3 separate regions of the Homo sapiens genome follow, and all the other regions are linked to region 3. Evidence: promoter capture Hi-C in 16 types of primary human blood cells and fetal thymus (Javierre and others, 2016). All regions are on one chromosome and are shown on one strand. The core of a region is centred on a gene start or on the middle of the fragment in contact, and the rest is flanking DNA. Distances in the headings are between cores, read along the strand shown. Region 1 overlaps CASR (calcium sensing receptor). Region 2 overlaps CD86 (CD86 molecule). Region 3 holds the start of POLQ (DNA polymerase theta).

What was found. Contacts are between HindIII fragments. The CHiCAGO score rates a contact against its expected background, and 5 or more counts as called.
Region 1: a contact is called between a fragment that was not itself captured here and the fragment with the promoter of POLQ in region 3, in 2 of 17 cell types (total B cells and neutrophils). The highest score is 5.8, in total B cells.
Region 2: a fragment that was not itself captured here is called in contact with the fragment with the promoter of POLQ in region 3 in 1 of 17 cell types (naive CD8 T cells); the score reaches 5.0 in naive CD8 T cells.

The regions. Positions count from the first base shown.
Region 1 is chr3:122,234,518-122,239,010 of GRCh38, reverse strand. All of the region lies in intron 1 of CASR (calcium sensing receptor), which reads right to left. Among named protein-coding and RNA genes, the nearest start is that of CASR, 53 kb to the right of the region's middle. The HindIII fragment of the contact is 3,458 bases long and covers 1,337-4,493 here.
Region 2 is chr3:122,101,653-122,105,810 of GRCh38, reverse strand. CD86 (CD86 molecule) reads right to left here. Exons shown (of 7, transcript NM_175862.5): 3 at 1,964-2,299. Among named protein-coding and RNA genes, the nearest start is that of CD86, 48 kb to the right of the region's middle. RefSeq lists a silencer at 1,450-1,519. The HindIII fragment of the contact is 469 bases long and covers 2,278-2,746 here.
Region 3 is chr3:121,543,237-121,547,495 of GRCh38, reverse strand. It overlaps POLQ (DNA polymerase theta), which reads left to right and starts at 1,508. Exons shown (of 30, transcript NM_199420.4): 1 at 1,508-1,781; 2 at 2,590-2,769. The coding sequence starts at 1,619. RefSeq lists enhancers at 1,360-1,654, 1,546-1,775. The HindIII fragment of the contact is 11,524 bases long and covers 1-4,259 here.

The sequences.
Region 1 (4,493 bases), core at 1,816-4,315, 690 kb before region 3:
CCACCCCAGCTGGGAAGGTAGTAAGTCACACCTGAAACCAGCATGTCTGAGTCTCACCCAAAGCCCATGGCACACTACCTGGGTATCACCGTTGGTTATTCAGGGCCCAAGAGCTCTTTAGTCAGCAGGTGATATATTCTGTCAGGACTAGCTCATTCCTTTCAAGGCAGTGAGTTCCCTTCTGGCCCAGGGCATGTCTAGAAATGTTGTCAAGGAACTAGGGCCTGGAATGGAGGCCTTATGACTCTGCCTGGTGCTCTATCCTACCTTGGCTGAGCTGGTATCCAAGGTGCAAGACAAAGTCTTCTTTACTCTTTGCTCTTCTCTCCTTAAGCAGAAGGAAGGAGTCACTTTAGTTGCTGTGAGCTGTGTTACCTGGGGTTGGGAGATGGGTAGAACAAGCACTCCCTTAGCCACCCTGGCTGGTGTCTCCCTAGGTCACCTGCTGCTCTAGTCCACTGGCTCTAGTGTTAAGCCTAGCCCAGCACTAGGAATTGCTTAGTTAGGAATTACAGTCCTTTTGTCCTAGACTGCTTTTCAAGCTTATGTAAGACCCCAGAGCACTTTAACACGTGGTGGTGAGGCTTGCAGAAACTCAAGTTCCGACTGCTTAGGTGGGTGATTCCCCTCTTGCTAGGGCTGGTCCAAATGCTCCCTCCTCCTCAGCGAATGCCAGCTGAGCCCAGCACAGCTTTTCTCTCTGCTGTGACAGGTCAGCACTGAGTTCAGTGCCAAGTGGCCCAGTCGCTGTGCTCTCCTTCCCCAAAATGCACAGATTTTCTCTTGCACCACACGGCCACTGCTGGGGGGATAGGGGAGGGGTGGTATCAGCGATTCAAGGCTGTCTTTCCTACCCTCCTCAGTGCCTCTTTGAGCAATATGAAATTAGCACCGGGTGCTGTGACTGTTCACCTGATTTTTACTTCTTTTGATGGTGCTTTTTTGTGTAGTTAGTTGTTAAAATGTGGTGTTCCTGCAGGGGGGAGCCATCAGTGGAGGCTTCTGTTCAGATATCTTGCTCCACCCTCAGCTATAAGCTTTCTTAAACATGCCTTTTTGTGAATGTATGTTGAATATATACCTAGAAGTGGAGTTGCTACATCATAGAATTTGTGTATCTTTAGTTTTAGTAGATACTACCAAAAAGTTTTCCAAAGTGTTGTACCAATTTATCTTCCCACTGCACTCTATGAGAGTTCTATCACTCCATGTCCTTGTCCACCCTTGGTACTGCCAGTCTTTTTCATTGTGGTCATTGCTTGTCTTCCTTTTATATGATTATATTGTATCTACCTATGTTCCCAAAATGTATTTAAAATTTTAGTTGTTTTAAGCTTCATAAAAGGGTATCATACTATATGTAATCTTCTGAGTTTCTTTCACTTAATATCGTATTAATAAAATTCATCTATATTGTTGTACTTTACTATAATCCATGATTTTAACTGCGGTATAATATTCCACTGCGTGAATATGTCACAATTTATTCATTCATTTTCCCATTGGTGGGCATTTGGACTTTTTCAATAGTATGGCAATTCTTTCAATTGGCTTTGAGATTGTGCAGGAACCAAGGAAGAGCTCTGTGGAATTTTAAAGACACTTCGGCCAGGTGTGGTGGCTCATGCCTATAATCCCAAGGTGGGAGGCTGAGGTGGGTGGATCATGAGGTCAGGAGATTGAGACTATCCTGGCCAACATGATGAAACTCCATGTCTACTAAAAATACAAAAATTAGTCGGGCGTGGTGGTGCACTCCTGTAATCCCAGCTACTTGGGAGGCTGAGGCAGAAGAATCGCTTGAACCCGGGTGGTGGAGGTTGCAGTGAGCCAAGATCACACCACTGCACTCCAGCTTGGTGACAGAGCAAGACTCTGTCAAAAAAAAAAAAAAAAAAGCATAAGTACTGTTAGCTACAATTAGCATCTCTACAAATTTCCAGGCCCAAAATAACAAGCCTCCAGTGTTTCATTACCCCATTTTAAAGAAGATTTTACCTCACAGTTAACTAAAATCACATCTATTTTAAAATTAAGGCCATTTATTCTTGCCTAATTTACCACTGCAATGAAAGGCCAGAGACAAAAATTTTCATTAATTTAAAGATAGAATCACCTTCACTTTTTTTTCAGGCTTAACTATCCAAATTTCTTTCAAACCTTTCTGCTTAGGACTACTTCATATTTTTCTAGATATATTTGTTAATATGCCAAGAACCTATTCTAAGTTCTTCATGTCATTTTTTAGAGCATGTTAACAGAAATTGGTACCATGATTTGGGGCTGACCTGAGGTTAAAAGAATTTGCGTCCCACTGGAGATTTCAAGATGTGTTTGTTAGCTTTTGTCCATAACTCCACAATTTGGCTGACTCATGTCCATATTCTGGCCTTCTAGGGCCTCCTTGATTTCCTAATATACATTTGCTTGAGTAGTCCCTTCAGAACCTATATCTGTTTTTTTAATCCCCAAATATCTCAGATTGAAAATGTTCAAACTGAATTTTATTTTTGAAGAACTATGCCTCCCCACTAAATTCATTATGAATTTTGTTCCCATTTTTGAAGGAACATGTCTCCCTGTCAGGAAATGTCAGGAAATATGTGTTGATTTATTAGCTGGCCCCTTCAGCTTTGCCCGGAAGAATCATGAACCAGCATTTAAAGAATGAATTTTGGAACATGCTACATTCAGTTGCCTCTATGAGAAGATTCTCCATTGCTAAGGACACCTGAAGCTGTTCTGGAGGAAGACTGTCTGGAATAAACTTTCCCCAAATAAGCCCATGGATGTTTCTAACCCTGACTTTGATGCTGGGTCAGCCAATATATCCTCACACATGGTGGAAACCCATTCAATTGATTTCTTTTAATGTGGTAACCCTCAGAAAGAAACTTCTTGTTACTGTAAAAAGAGCCTCCTATCTGTTGGGCATGGGGCCGGGTGCAGGGAAGTGAGTCTTAAATTGTGGTCCTTGGACGAGCATCAGCACCATCACTTGGGAACTTGTTAGAAACACGAATCCCATCCCAACCTACTGAATCAGAAACTCTGGGTGTGGGACCAGCAACCTGTGTTTTAAGAAGTTTGAAAGCCATTGCTAGACCGTCTTTCATATGCATCTGTCCAGGGTCATATTCTGTTCTGAGCTCTAAAAATTGTGTTTCCTAAAAATGATTGTTTAAATGTAATTTTATTTATGTATTATCATTTTTAGAGACATGGTCTCACTATGTTGCCCAGGTTGGAGTGCAGTGCCATGATCATAGCTCACCGCAGTCTAGAACTCCTGGGCTCGTGATCCTCCTGCCTCAGATTCCTGAGTAACTAAAACTATAGGAACATGCCACTACCCCAGGCTATTTTTTAAAAAATTTTGTAGAGACAGGACCTTGCTGTATTGCCCAGGATTCTTCTGATACTATTACTTTTCTCCAAGGATAACACAGCCAAACAAAAATGTATTTTGAATGGATACACAACAGTTTCCTGTCAATGTCAATTCATTCTTCGGTTTCCCTGAAACCTTTCTCCTGCAAAATAACTGCTAACATCTTATGAAACCAGTATTCCAGGAAAGCACAGTTCAGAAGTCATTGCTGTAAAGTTAGGGTAACTTTCTGAATCTATAATCAATATGCATGGTCTGTGAACTAGAGAAAATGGCCACTAACCATAGATAGACTACTTCTCACCCTCTCTTCCCAGCCACATGCAGGGGATTTACCTATGTGGTTATCATTTGCGTCTACCTTTCCGAGCAGAGTCTTGGGTGCTCTACTTTACACTTAAGTCTTTCATTATTAATTCCCTTTTTAAATTTGTGGAATGAGTATATATTCTTCACAATCAATCCATCAGTCCCAGATGGGAAGGTCTGGGACCCTGTTTACCTGCAACTGTTAGAAGTCACAGCACCTGTGACTGTTAGAAGTGTCCAGCACTCCCTGGTCCTTCTCTACTCTCCTGCGAGCCCTTTCTATGAGCTCTTCAGGGGCTCTTTCTTTGGGAACTGAAATGGTCCTAAACATTCCACAATCTGTGCTGATGCAGTGCACTCTCAGTGTCTCTCTGCCTTCTTCGGCTTTGCCCAGAAGAATCAGGAACCAGCATTTAAAAAATAAATCCTGGAACATACTACATTCAGTTGTCTCTATGAGAAGATTCTCTGTTGCTAATGACACCCGAAGCTGGTCCGGAGGAACACTGTCTCAGATAAACTTTCCCCAAAGAAGCCCACACATGTTTCTATAAACCTGACTTTGAAGTTGGATTAGTCCACATAGCCTGAGCCTCAGTGAGTGACTCCTGTCCAGCTGGTCAGGGTAAGAGATGACTAGGGTCAGCCTGCTATACAGAGGCCTTACAAATAACTCTTTCCACTCTGATTCTTCCATTACTTATTTGAAATAACTAAATTCCATTTGAAATAAATAAAATTCCATCCTCTCATGTTTGCTTTCTTCTTTCTTCTCTCCCTCTTTTTCCTCCAT
Region 2 (4,158 bases), core at 1,263-3,762, 560 kb before region 3:
GCAGGAAGGAATTGAGCTGGAGTCTCACCAGGAACTGACAGAGTTCATGGTGCTGAGATGCCCTGCGTCATATCTTTCAGAAACCCAAGCAGGATTGTGGTAAGTGAGTGGGTGGATATTTTGGAATTCGAAATTCAGAACACTGATTTTTGGCATGAGCATCAAAGTGTCTTCATAACATACTCTAAGAAGAAGGCCAAATCCAGCTATTTTAGGGAAAAATACATGATCTTAATAAACACAGTGTTTCTCTTGCCTTTGCCATTCTCACTTTTCTGGCTGTTCAGGATCACTGGCATGGAGTCCCTAGACCTGTGTCATGTGCCTTCTGTCAGAAAAAATCCCTTGTTCTTTTATAGTTACTAGGTAGTTTGCAGGTTCTACAAACTAATTTATAATTTAGTGTATTCTTACTAAAAGGTCTGTCATTTGCATGTCATCTTTATAAGTTTTGCTATATCAGTGTACTATTTGAGCAGTCTTCTTGGAGTCTATGTGGCCTGTAGAAGGTGAATTGCCAGACCGTGTTTAGCTTCATTAACAAGATCTGTGAAATCACATGTTGCGTAAGTTAGAGTTTTTCTAATATACATTAAAACAAATACAACATGGCTTTTCAAAATGCTTATCTGTGTCCCACCTAAAACATTTCCAATGGTACCTGACCACATTTTGAAAACACGGATTTAGCACTTGGTTAACTATTCCTAAAGCCCTGCAGCCTAGTTTAAATCACACAGGGTTCAAAGGGAGCAGCTCTCCATTCTATTTTTACTTTTGCTTCTGTTTTACTCTATGGTTTTAGAATAGGTGTTGATCTGCCTTTTCAAGTTTCATCAAAAATTAACCTGGATCCAGTAATACCACACCTGGGTATTTCCTCTAGAGAACTGAGAACTTATGTTCACACAAAAACCTGTACATGAACGTTTACAGCAGCCTTATTCATAAGAGCCCCAAACCAGAAACAACCCAATGTCTTTTACTGAGTTGAATGGATAAACAATAAAATGCTACTCAGCAATAAAAAGGGACAAGCTCGATATGTGCAACAACTTGGGTGAATCTCGAAGGCGCGCTAAACGAAAGAAGCCAGGCTTAAAAGGTTACATACTGTGTGGCTTCACTTATGTGACACTGTCAAAAAGACAAAACTATAGGATGCCCAACAAGGGTTATGAGTGCAGACAGGGTATGACTCTATGAAGGGACAGCCTGAGGGAAATTTTTAGGGTGATAGAAATGCTCTATGTCCTGTGGCGGTTACCTAAATCTATACAAGATCTATACAATCAGTAGAACAGTATATCAAAACAAAAAAAAATAATTTTACTGTGTGATAGTTTTAAAAAAATCTGTAGTGGCATTTAGGCCTTCCAAGGTCTCGTGAAGCAGAGGAGCTGGTTTGTAAGTTTGTGGGTTATGTTTGTTGGGTTTTTTTCCCTTCTGTCTACCAGGCTCATGGTTGTGGCAGCAAACAACTCATAAGCAACCTAGAGGAGGCTGAAGGGAAAACCCAAATGTGTCAGCTGTCCGCTTTGCTAGGAGCTCCAGGCAAAGATTTAGTAGGTGAAAAATCTTGGACCCAAGGAAAAAATGAATGTAAGACATCTGAGGCCTTTATGGTTATATAAACTTTGTGATGGCCAAATTATCCATGGTTTTTACTATAGGTAATTAGCCATATTATCTTTGTTCAATTAGCTCTATTTTTTCCCCAAAGCAGATTTTTACTGATCCTTCAGAAGCAGACTATAAAAAGTACAAAAGACTTTCAGTTCCCTACTCCCAGACTCTACACTCCCTTCAAATGCACTTCCCAGAAGTGGCTGTCCTCTGCCTTCTCTCTATAGACCCCCCTTTTCCCCTGGGCCCCTCAAGTCCCCCTCCAGTGTTTTTCTAACTCATTTGCAGTCTCATCTGAGAAGGCTAAGAATCTGAACACACACCATTGACCACATACCAAGCACTGACAGTTCAGAATTCATCTGGTGGATGCGAATCATTCCTGTGGGCTTTTTGTGATGGATGATACATTGATACAAGCCCTTGTCCTTGATCTGAAGATTGTGAAGTCTCAGGGTCCAACTGTCCGAATCAAAACTTGTGCGGCCCATATACTTGGAATGAACACTGTCAAATTTCTCTTTGCCTAAGTATACCTCATTCAGAACCAAGTTTTCCTGGTCCTGCCAAAATACTACTAGCTCACTCAGGCTTTGGTTTTGAGAGTTTGCAAATTGGCATGGCAGGTCTGCAGTCTCATTGAAATAAGCTTGAATCTTCAGAGGAGCAGCACCTAAAAAAGAAGGTTAAGGATTAGGGAGGGAGAAACAAGAGGAAAGGGGAAAAAACCTCCATTTCTCTTTATACAATACCCAGATACTATCTTATCAGTAATCATGCTGAAGAATAAGATATTAAGCTCTGGAACTGTGCACATCTGCTTGGCATCTGGAGATTAGGACCTTTGTCCTTGCTTCACCGCTGACTAAATGTGTGGCCTTGTACAAACTGCAATCTTTATGAGCCTCAGTTTCCTCATCTGATTAATGAAGTGGTTGACTAAATGTTCCAAGGGTCTTTCTAGTACTGTGGTTCTGTGAATTTAAATTGCAAGACAGGGAAAAACCAGTAGAGTTAGACAACCCATTCACCCACCAGTTACCTTCCTATAACCTTAATTTTAGTTTTCATCACTGTAGCTGTTACAGGTTCCATAACTTCTACACCATCACCAAAAGCTTTCCCCTCCCCTCCCATCCACATATTCCTTGGTCTGCTATGGTGAAAAGATTGCTGATAATGGTAATAAATTATAGCCCCCCTTTATTATACTTCATTAGTTGGGGAATCACGTTGAGTAACATCTTTGAAATTCAAATAGCTCCCTTTACAGAACTTCCCCTATGACTGCTGCTCCCATGGCCAGCACTTCCAAGGATGTCAAATGCTTTAGAAATGACTTCGATAGTGAACCAAGGCCTTTATTTTCAGTGACCTCTCTAAGCTCTTTCAGAGATCAGAAAGAGAACTGGGCAAATTTGATGGCTGTTTTCGGATTGTGGTGGTCAATGACCATTTAAGGCACATGAGTGAAATGCTGAAAATGAATCATAGATGGGCAGGTGAGGATGTGCTTTGGGAGTATTGGGGAAACCCCAGGCACCACAAACTTGCTGCTCCCAGTATGCACTGACCCTGGACAATTTTACAACCATAGACATCATGCTGGAAGGGTTGAGAGAAAGGCTTTAGTCCTTGAGGACACTTTGGGGTTTGTGGGAAGGATGTGGGCCACCCAACTACTTAAATGTGAATGATCACGGGGTTTGTGTAGGACCTTTTCTAGGTTACAGAATTACTTGAGACTTGGCAAAAAAAAAAAAAAAAAAAAAAAAAAAGTAAGCAGTGGTGGGTGAGAAGTGCGGGGGTGGAGAGTGGGAAGGCTGTTTCTTACTTAATATGAAGTTAGATGCCACCTTGGAGAGGAAGTTAGTGTAAGTTCTAAATAAAATTTCATCATTCAGGATTTATGTGAAGGCATGTTGACATTGAGGAGGAAAGGGAGGAGATGGGTTGATGAGAGAGATGAGAGGAGCTTCATTTGAAGAGTTCTAAGTGGGGGAGTAATTAAATTGATGTGGTTTCTCTTGAAAGAGGGAATAGAAGGACAGATAACAGTGACATGCACTTGTCAAACTAAACTGTGTACAGAGTGGCCCAGTGAGAACACATAATCAAGGGGTTGGTGGTGGTCTTGAACTCTTAGGGAAGCAGACAGCAGGCATCAGTGGGAGTTTGCACAAATATGAATCACTGCCTATTTCACTACACTCACTAGGACCCTGTGAAGTACTTGAGGTATAAAATGCACCACCTGTAGAGGATGCGTACCGGTATTGGAGGGAGGAAGGAAAATCTATATGCGTACCCTGACAGTGAAAGGGAGACCTAAGGAAGATTTAGTGTGTTTATGAATCACCTTACAAGGCAAACCTGAGGCTTCTGCATCTTCTTTGCTGAGCTCTTAATGTAATGCAAGAGTGCCCCCTACTGTAAAAGCTTCTAGCATTGTCTCTGAGGAAATACTGGTTTTAGTCTAAATTGTCATGTAATATAGGACAGATGACCTGATGGAGAAACCAAACACACAGT
Region 3 (4,259 bases), core at 259-2,758:
CTCCAGAGTTGCACTGTTAACCCTTAAGTTACACTGCATCTGAGAAAGTTCTTTCTTGGCTGCAATCTAGGGGTCTCTCTCTCTTTTTTTTTTTTTTCTTTTTTTGAGACGGAGTCTTTCTTTGTCGCACAGGTTGGAGTGCAGTGGTGCGATCTCGGCTCACTACAACCACCGCCTCCCAGGTTCAAGCAATTCTCCCGCCTCAGCCTCCAGAGTAGCTGGGATTACAGGCACCCGCCATCATACCCGGCTAATTTTTTGTATTTTTGTAGAGACGGGGTTTCACCATGTTGGCCAGGCTGGTCTAGAGCTCCTGACCTCAGGTGATGCACTCATCTCGGCCTCCCAAAGTGCTGGGATTACAGGCGTGAGCCACCACGGCCGGCGAGATCTCTTTTATTTCTTTAATAGTACTCTTCATTTCTGCCCAAGCATATGGCACACTTCATTAACTGACTTGTTTAATGTCTGCCTTATTCTCTAGACTCTTTCTCTTTGAGAGCAGGAACCATTTTATGCCATTTCACTGCCATTTACCCAGTGGCTAGCTTACAGTAGATACTCAGTAAATAGTTGTTGATTGCGTAAAAGGCCAAGAGAAAAATGTTTCATTCACGGAGTAATGTCGCCATCTCGTGGAACTTTAGAATATTGTCATTTAAATCAAAAAAATGTTTTCACGGAAGGAATTGATGGTTCGAATGCTATTTTCCAGATTGTATTCGAGTGTTTTTTTTTTTTTTAATTGGACTGGACCTTTTGAGATTTTTAGTGCTCTAGAACTGCACAGCCTCTTCAGGTCAGGCTTAGGGCCTACTAGTTTTGCTTGGTGAAATGAATTATGCAACTAGGTAATGAATGGTCACCGTTTTACGTTCAGAACTCGTTCGCTTCTACCTTTACAAAAGGGACAACACAGATGCATTACTAAGCTCTTGGCTCATAACGATCCCTGGGGTATATTCAGAGCCCCTTCCTCGCGGCGTTCATATAGTGTCTCAGGGGTCTGTCAGCCAGCAATCCCCAATTCCTCATTACATATTCCTCACAATGCATGCTGGCTAAAATGGAAATTGTGTTCAGAAATAGCCCTGCCCTACCATCATATACTAGGAGAAAGGAGGAAATTATGCTCTATTAGAAACCCTAGGCTATCTTGCATAATGCTTCTCAATCTGAAATAATTTTTTACAGAATACCAATACGTTAAGAAGAGCTACTTCCCTGATCTACCTATTATGGGCAGCCCATTTTATGAAGTTAGCATGGCCTTCCTATTCAAACCAGAAATGGACAAAAGGAGAAGGAAGGCTTTTAGGTCAGTATGGTTATAACTGTAGATTCTGTATTCTTCCTCTTTAATCTATCTCTCATATTAACCAACCAGGAGGTTGGAGGCCGGAAGTCTTAGACGCCAGCGAGAGCCGCTCCTTCCCCACGAGTCTATGGCTTTCGGGTTACTTAAGCCACGGAGAACTCTATGGTTCCGGGGCGGGCCGGGAGGTTTGAGTTTGAAGACTGGCGGGAAGATGTCCGCAGCTGTTGCCAGGCCAGGGTTCTCCCGAGAGGGAGGACGCTGGGACTGTGGCTTGCCCTGATCGGCCGAGAAGAGTTTGCCATGAATCTTCTGCGTCGGAGTGGGAAACGGCGGCGTTCAGAATCAGGCTCAGATTCGTTCTCGGGAAGCGGCGGTGACAGCAGTGCCAGCCCCCAGTTCCTCTCCGGGTCCGTGCTGAGCCCGCCGCCCGGCCTTGGTCGCTGCCTGAAGGCCGCAGCTGCAGGTGCTCCAGGAACCCGGGAGGCCGCGGGCAACGGGGGCAGCTCCGCCGGGCCATGGGTCGGGAGGTGTCCTCACCCCACGGGACTTGCTTCGTTGCATACCCCATTGGGCTTCTACTCCCCTTCTCTGTGACTGGGGCCTGGTGTGGCAGGTCACTTTCTGTTCAGACATACGCGTGTTTTCAGTGATCGCCTGGTATTAATGTTCACGTGGCTTCTGGATCTTTCGACCTTTAGAGAAACAACTTCCTAGTTAGCTTCATCCCATCATCTGTTGGGCGGCTCGTTCCTGGTAGTACCCAGTACTCCTTACAGACCCTTAAGACAGGATTGTTGGGCCTGGAGTACGGCACAGGCTGTTCGGCGTCCAGGGGAAGGCTGGAAGGGATTCGTAATGAGATTGGTTGGGTGTCCCGTGGATGTCGACCCAGTTTTTTAAAATCGTTAGTTGTGCAGTCGTCATGGAACTAAAACTTACTATAAATAGAAACTCACCTAACTTAGCTTTGTAATGCTTGCATATTGCCCTCCTCCCCCAACTACACCCGTAATTCCAACACTCTTTATCTACTGTGTATTGCACGCTTTTTTGTTCGTTTGAGGCTTTTAAGGAATTTTTATTATATGCAGTAAATAACAATTTATTACTTTTCTATACATGGTCAATTTCTCATAAGATTCTTGAAGTCAGGATGTGCTTTAAAGAGCTTCATTTCAACACATAGGAATTCCAACACACGGTGAAGGGCTAACTGTAAAACTCATATATTAGAAGTAAATTAAATTTTAATTTTTTCTTTTTCCTAAAAGGAGAATGCAAGCCTACAGTTCCTGACTACGAAAGAGACAAGCTACTATTGGCAAACTGGGGACTTCCTAAAGCAGTTCTGGAAAAATACCACAGTTTTGGTGTAAAAAAGATGTTTGAATGGCAGGCAGAGTGCCTTTTGCTTGGACAAGTCCTGGAAGGAAAGAATTTAGTTTATTCAGGTATCCAAATTTATGTAAACTAATTACTATTTTTAAGATATGAATGTAAAGAATACTCTATTGAGGTAGTTGTGGTTCGTTTAAAAGGTGAATGAGGCAGTGCTTTATAACTAGAGAAAATCGTACAATATGTGTGAAAAGTGGAGTTTTATTTATATTTAAATTACAAAAGTTTTATTGTTTGACTGGGGTGGAGGGAAGCAAGAAAAATGACAATTTAAAGAGTGGGCAATTCTGCCTGCCATTATTCTCAACAAACATATATCCCAGTGAGTGTGCAATGGGAGATGTAAATCTGCCCTTCCCCTGTTTGATCCTGGTTGCTTTTCAGGGTATGAGCATTATCATTACATGTTTGTTAATTTACCTTTTTTTTTTCTTGAGATAGAGTTTGTCTCCAGGCTGGAGTGCAGTGGCGCTATGTGGGCTTACTGCAACTTCCACCTCCCAGGTTCAAGTGATTCTCCTGCCTCAGCCTCCCAAGTAGCTGGAATTACAGGTGTGCGCCACCAGGCCCAGCTACTTTTTTGTATTTTTAGTAGAGATGGGATTTCACTGTGTTGGCCAGACTGGTCTTGAGCTTCTGACAAGTGATCTGCCTACCTTAGCCTCCCAAAGTGCTGGGATTATAGGTGTGAGTCACCGTGCCCAGCTATAGATTGACCTGTTTGTACAGGGTTGTATATACAAACAACAAGTAATATACTTTATATAAAATTTTTATGGGTTTTCTTTTTTTTTTTTGAGATGGAGTCTTGCTCTGTCGCCCAGACTGGAGTGCAATGGAGTTGTCTCGGCTCACGGCACCCTCTGCCTCCCGGGTTCAAGTGATTCACCTGCCTCAGCCTCCTGAGTACCTAGGATTACAGATGCCCGCTGCCATGCCTAGCTAATTTTTGTATTTTTAGTAGAGACGGGGTTTCACATCTTGGTCAGGCTGGTCTCGAACTCCTGACCTCAGGTGATCCACGCACCTCAGCCTCCCAAAGTCCTGGGATTACAGGCATGAGCCACCATGCCCGGCCCTATATGGGTTTTCATGGGCAACTATGGCATACACAATTTTTAACGCATGCTTACTACACTGACTTTAAATCTAATCATTTGGTAAGATGCAATTCCTTTGTGTCAGTTTTCTCCGAAATTATGAGTCACACAGATTTTTCATTATGGCTGTAAGGACGAATTAAATAATTATCAGCAGATATAAGTTCAGGCAGTGGAATTAGACTGGTTGGATTTGAAAACTATCACTTACTGGCTATGCAGCCTCACAGATTACTTAGGAAGAGTGAGAGAGTGTATATGTGTTTGTGAGTATGTGTGCCTCGGTAGTACTTAGAGTTGATTAAATTATTTCATATATAAAAGCTCAGAACAGTTTTTGGCACATAGAAAGTACTTGTATTGTGAAAAGGCATTACAAAAAATAAAATACTTGTAAATGCTAAGAAGTCATAGTTAGTGGCAGTGGCATAATTGCTTGACCA